2 separate regions of the Homo sapiens genome follow, and region 2 is linked to region 1. Evidence: promoter capture Hi-C in human tissues and cell types (Jung and others, 2019). All regions are on one chromosome and are shown on one strand. Each heading gives the region's core, a stretch centred on a gene start or on the middle of the fragment in contact. The rest is flanking DNA. Distances are from core to core; before and after follow the strand shown. Region 1 holds the start of ATRIP (ATR interacting protein). Region 2 overlaps PFKFB4 (6-phosphofructo-2-kinase/fructose-2,6-biphosphatase 4).

Region 1 (3,083 bases), core at 237-2,736:
ATCACTGCACTTCAGCCTGGGTGACAGAGTGAGACTCCGTCAAAAAAAAAAAAAAAAAAAAGGGTGTTCACGTATATCTGTGTAAGACACAGCCAGATTTGAGTTTTGAAAAGATCACTCAGAATGTGATGTGAAGCCTCACTTGTAGGGAGTCAAGACTGGAAATGGGAAACCAATTTAGCAGACCATTGTTCAAGAGAGGACTCATGGTAACACAGATCAGGCAGCTGGTAGAAGCAATGTGAATAGGATAGACTCCAGAGAAGGATTAAGAAGGTAAGCTTGACATGCTTTCCAAATAAATTAGATGTAGAGTCAAGGAAAGGGGAAGAGTCGCTTTGTGCCACTGGATGGAGAGTCGTGCTAGTTACTTCCTTGTGGAACATCTGGTCATCATTCTCTGAATGTCTGCTTTGCCGGCACCATGCTAGAAGTGCTGGAGGAGGACTGGGTTTCCAGGAAATGATCGTGTTGAGTTTAAGGTGCCTTGAGACACCCAAGTACAGATGCAAGGTGCACTCAAAACATTTCTCTTTCTGGGAGTCCTCAAGACTTCACTCACTCCTCAACTAGAATGTAAGCTCCATGAAGGACAGTTTTTGTATTTTGTTCATTGTAAGGTCAGCTGCAGTTCCTCACGTTTGGGCACCTAGCACAGTTTACTGGTTGTATAAAAGAATAAATTTATTTCATCTCTTGCCTGTGTCTGGCTCCTCCCATGCTCACACTGCCCAAGGGAGACAGTGGGCTTCATAAGATCTAAAGCCGCTCAAACTTGTCACAAGAATGGGTCCCCATGCATGGGTAGTGATGGTTCTGATGGTGGTGGTAGGTGTGTTCCAAGGATCTCTGCTTAGAACCAAGAACCAAGTGGCCTAAACTTTAGAAAATAACGTAAAATGTCAACTTAGCCTTCTGTGTTTCAAATCGGCTGTTTGACCTGGCTAATGCATTTCCCCCTAAAATCAAAGGACCTTCTGGAAGACAACCGCTGCTTAAATCAGGGTGTTCCCATATTTTAAAAAGGCGAAAAGGCAGTGCTGGCCGCGAGGTTCCGAAGCCACAGCCATCAAGGGGATCTGGCGCGGTTGACAACTCCCTCCGAGCAAAAGGCCGCGAGGAGCACTCACTGGACACGTCCCGAGCCGCGGCCGGACATTGGCTCAGGGCCTGTGACGCGAGGGTGTCAAGCTCCTCCAGGTCGTCGGCAGTGAAGTCCCCATGCGCGCCGAACGGGTCGTCAGGGTCCGGGGCAGCGGCTGCGGAGAAGCCCCGGGCCCGCTTGCTCGGGGGGTGCCCGGTGCCCGGCGGCGGGCCGGGGCGAGGCGCCGGGGGCTCGCTCCGCCTCTTGCTGCCTGGCGCGGAGGTCCCCGCCATGCTTTCCGCTCACCCCAAGTATCCGACAGCGCCGAGCTAGACTTGCCTGCCGCCAGGCCGGAGAACTGGACCAACCGTCCGCGCGCCGCCGCTTGCCTCCGCCGCGAGTGCCCCGCCCCTGGCCCAGGGGCCAATCAGCTGGCAGGCGGAGGGCGCGGAGGAATGACGAACGTCCGAGCGCGCCGCCACACCCGGCCCCGCCCGGTGTTTAGAGGTCCACGGGCGGGATTCGGCAGGTTTGCTGCAAGGACTCAGTGCGGCGCGACCCGTTACCGGAGAGGCGGGCCGGAGGCGCACCAGCTCCGCCGCGCTGGTGGCTTTGCGCTCCCTCCCTGGCATTCCGTGGAGGAGGGCCGCGCAGGAGCAGCCTGCCCTAGCATTCACGCGTGTTGCGTTTGAGTCGAGCCAGGCATCATTCAGGGATGTGGTCTCCGTGACCTCGCTTTCCTTCTGCCGCCAGACCCACCTCCCACAAACCCCTAGGCTTTCTTGAGGAGAGTGGAATTTGTTGGGTGAGGAGTATGAATAGAGCTGTCGTGTGCAGACATCTTCGGGTTTAGTGAATGTTTCACATGTGTACATTTGAGGTAGGCCCAGGGAGGAGGAAAGTCCAAGGAGGAATGATGTTTGGAGCTGTTCTTGTGTGGGAGGGGGTGGGAGCTGCTCAGGCTGTTAACATCCATTCCTCTGAGTGCTGGACTGTTTTTTTTTCCTAAGCTCTGGTTGTATAGAATAGGGCTCAGGAGGTCAAGGAAGTCCCCCTGTAAATGGCACCTGCGCTGTCCTACAAGTTGAGTCAAGTTAGCAGGATAGAGGGGTAGGAGGCTGGCACATAAGACTAACACGAGAATTCTACATTGAAAGGGAGGCCACACAAAGGCCAGGTAAGAGTTACCGGTGGCGAACAGAGGTAAAGCTTCACAAAGGAGCAGCAATTTGAGGTGGGCTTGCGTGCCTGACAGATTTTATTGGGCAGCTGTGGTGTGCAGAAGTTAGCCGCAATAGAGAATTTGGCAATGGAGAGTAACAGGAGCAAGACTCTTTCAGCCTTACCTGCTCAGTGCCAAACTTCACCTGTGAGTGTCCTAGGAATATTTGTGAAAGCATTAAATGAAAAGAGTAAATGAAAAAGAGAGTGCTATCAGGGCCTATAATGTCTAAGGAGTTTAAAATTTTTTGGAGCAACTGGTAGTCTCCGTCAGATAGCTTCCCAAGTGTTGCATGCTTAATTGCTGCAGGACTCTGGTCCTGGAAAGAGACAGGACTGTTCATTTGTTAAAGAGGGATAGGTTCCACCAAGTAACTTGCTTTCAGGAACAGTGTGAATCACTGGTGCTCAGGTTTGTTTTAGCAGCATACGGCTGGGTGCCAGCTAGCAAGGCCCCACAGGGAATGCCTGAAGCCTACTGAAGGGTGCTACTGGCTGTGCAACTTTCTGGAGAGGACCAACACAGGCTTCCCCCTGCCCCCTCTCCCGCGTTAATATCTAGTACATTAATCATGAAAGTTTTCAATATTCTAAAACCTAGTTTTGATTTAGCAGTCTCATAATGGTTCCAGAGCGCTCTTCGACAATATTCTCAGAGAAAGCTGAGCATTATTAACATAATTGTATTAAGGGCCTGGGAGGGAAATCCAAATACTTGTGCTTCTGAATTAATTTTTTTTTTTTAAATACAGGGTCTTGTTCTGTCTCCCAGGCTGGA
Region 2 (3,083 bases), core at 318-2,817, 77 kb before region 1:
AGGCCTGCCAGCCTGGGTGTGTGGTTCATCTCCACCCCTTCCCAGCTATGCAGCCCAGGCCTTAGTCCCTTCCTCAGGTGTGGAGTGGGCAGTGCCATGTAGGGCAGGCCTTCAACCTGGAGACCTTTGGCTCCCTGCTCTCCATTCTTGTCTTTCCCCTTCCCAGGGGTGGAGAATTCGGAAGGGCAGGGCCTGAGGTGGGGGATCTGCGGAGTTAGGCTTTCCTGGGACCCCTGTAGACAGTGTGCGGTCCCCTGGCATTCCCAGGCCAGCTCCTTTCCCAGCGAGTTGTCAGCCCTTTCCGGGGCGCTCAAATGGCTGGGGAGTTGGGGAGACCATGGCAGGCCTGGGACTCGGGTCTCAGCTCACTCGAGTCCCTGTCTCGGGCCTCATCCTTCCTTTGGATGCTTCCTCTTGTCACAGGCTGAGCCCATCCTGTCCTTCCTGTGGCTCCAGGCACCACCCCCAGCCCTGGCACCAGACCCAGGGAGACCTTCCACACATGAGTTGGCTACCACAAGCCACTGCACTTGTCACCTTCTCTGACACAGTTCAGCCCAGGCCCCAGGTCAGAAACTGAGGGTCACCTTTGACTGAGGCATCTCCTTCCACTTCCAGGAGGTGGCCTGGGGCAGGGGCCAAATAAAAATACACCCCGTCAACACACATATGTACACATATATATACACATGTAGAAGCACCTCCACCCAGAAGCCAGGCTGACAGGTCTCTACACTGTACCATCCTCAGGATAGTATAGCTCTTGGGAACATTAATTATTCCCCACATTATGTTAGGCCAAGTTCAGATTTAGAACCAACCCAGATAACGGTCAGGAGAAACAAAGCAGCTGGCTGCTCAAACATGAGAATACAGTGAGGAGAATTGGTTGAGAAATTCATGTTACCAAAAGAACCGGTCTAGGATTTTCTCAGAACTACCAGGAACTGGCACAAATCAGCGTGTCATTTTTGCTTCCTAATCAAAGCTTGGGGCACGTTCAGTTCTGACTGCTGGAGGCCATTTTTGAAGGACCACTCATTGTGTGCAGAAGGATGAAACTGATGAAAATCTCTAAACCTGCCAGGTTGAGAGGCCCAGCAGGGGCCTAAACCGTACATCACGGCAGGCATAGGGGGAAGATACTGGGCAGGTAGACTGAGGATAGTTCCTGGGGACCCCAGCTGTTTCTGATGAGTCACACTCCAGAAAGTTCCAGGTCTTTGCTCTCTTCCCCTTCGCTCTTGTCAGTGCACTCTGTTTGCTGTGGGCTGGAAGCAGGCGAGGTCTTCTCCACCAGTCACATGAATTCTATAGCTGAGGATTCAGTGCAGAGCCCCATGGGTGGGCACTGAGGTGGACCCTGGGATGGAGCCTGAGGCCTAGCTCTGCGCTCTCAATCCTACCAGGACCTAGCCCTGAGGTGGGAAAGGTGGCCCCTTTCCTCAGCTGCCCACCCCCATGGCCTCAGAAGGCTAGGCTGGAGGAGGCCCAGCCACAGCTTCCCAGAATGGTGAGTAGCTGCAGGAGTGGAAGGTGGCCCAGTGTCCAGGATGTGTCTGTCCCTCCCCCGGAGCCAGGCCTGAGGGACCCCTCTCTGCTTGCCCTTGCAGTCCTACGAGGACCTGGTCCAGAGACTGGAGCCTGTCATCATGGAGCTGGAGAGGCAAGAGAATGTGCTGGTCATCTGCCACCAGGCTGTGATGCGCTGCCTGCTGGCCTACTTCCTCGACAAGGCAGCAGGTGTGGGCTGTGCCCCGGGGGAGGTGGGAAGGTTGTGTGAGAAGGTAGGCACTGTCACCAGGCATTTCTGGTGTGCTAGCCATCCCCCTCTGTGTCTACAGAACAGCTGCCCTACCTCAAGTGTCCGCTGCACACAGTCCTGAAGCTGACTCCTGTGGCATATGGTAAGGAAGCTTCCTGCACATTGACCATGGGTAGCCATGACCTTGGATCTCTGCACAGTTCCATGATTTTCTCCGAATTCCTTGAAAATTGTGTTAGGAGCCCATTCCTCCACCTACTACCCCACCACCTTTCCCAATTTGCTTTTTTTCTTTGAGACGGAGTCTCGCTTTGTCACCCAGGCTGGAGTGCAATGGCGTGATCTAGGCTCACTACAACCTCCACCTCCCGGGTTCAGATGATTCTCTTGCCTCTGCCTCCCGAGTAGCTAGGATTACAGGCGCCTGCCACCATGCCCAGCTAATTTTTGTATTTTTAGTAGAGACAGAGTGTCACCATGTTGTCAGGCTGGTCTCGAACTCCTGACCTTAGGTGATCTACCTGCCTCGGCCTCCCAAAGTGCTGGGATTACAGGCGTGAGCTACCATCATGAGCTACCATCTGCGGCCCTAATTTGCTTTTAAAAAGTTTGTTCTGGGGCTGGGTGCGGTGGCTCATGCCTGTAATCCCAGCACTTTGGGAGGCCGAGGTGGGTGGATCACGAGGTCAAGAGATAGAGACCCTCCTGGCTAACATGGTGAAACCCCATCTCTACTAAAAATACAAAAAAATTAGCTGGGCGTAGTGGCGGGCACCTGTAGTCCCAGCTACTTGGGAGGCTGAGGCAGGAGAATGGCATGAACCCGGGAGGCGGAACTTGCAGTGAGCCGAGATCGCACCACTGCACTCCAGCCTGGGCGACAGAGCGAGACCCTGTCTCAAAAAAAAAAAAAAAGTTTGTTGTGAAAAAGTTTATGTGGCCACAGAAGACCTCCCCAGTGACTTTGCTTAACCATTGCCTACCTGCATGAGGGGCTTTTCTACTGATTTTTCTGAACCCCCACAAGGCCCCTTGGTCCTCAGGGCCTGGACTTTATTCTGGGTGCAGGGCAGTGTGAGTCCCCACCCTGCCTCTTGCTATACCAGCAGAGACTTCAGGCAACTTCTTCATCTCTCAGGTCTTAGCTCTTCACCTTTAACACAGGTGCTCTTGGGGGAATGGCTGTGAAGCCCAGTGGCAGCTGATGTCACTCCAGTGTGTGACAATGGCCTCATCCCCCATTGCACTGTGCACCTGGCACACGGTTGACTGGGCCTTATATGGTAGAGTTGGAATGTGGGTGGTTTGGGGGCCCTGA

Evidence for each region. Contacts are between HindIII fragments. The study calls those that stand out against the background at their distance.
Region 2: a contact is called between a fragment that was not itself captured here and the fragment with the promoter of ATRIP in region 1, in 4 of the 25 tissues and cell types used here (IMR-90 fibroblasts, lymphoblastoid cells, mesenchymal stem cells and 1 more).

The regions. Positions count from the first base shown.
Region 1 is chr3:48,445,140-48,448,222 of GRCh38, reverse strand. ATRIP (ATR interacting protein) reads right to left here and starts at 1,486. Exons shown (of 13, transcript NM_130384.3): 1 at 1,131-1,486. The coding sequence starts at 1,377. ATRIP-TREX1 (ATRIP-TREX1 readthrough) reads right to left here and starts at 1,444. Exons shown (of 15, transcript NR_153405.1): 1 at 1,131-1,444. It also overlaps a transcript of CCDC51 not described here. RefSeq lists a silencer at 1,182-1,541. The HindIII fragment of the contact is 4,147 bases long and covers 1,288-3,083 here.
Region 2 is chr3:48,522,361-48,525,443 of GRCh38, reverse strand. PFKFB4 (6-phosphofructo-2-kinase/fructose-2,6-biphosphatase 4) reads left to right here. Exons shown (of 14, transcript NM_004567.4): 11 at 1,614-1,743; 12 at 1,845-1,907. Among named protein-coding and RNA genes, the nearest start is that of SHISA5, 20 kb to the right of the region's middle. The HindIII fragment of the contact is 4,280 bases long and covers 1-3,083 here.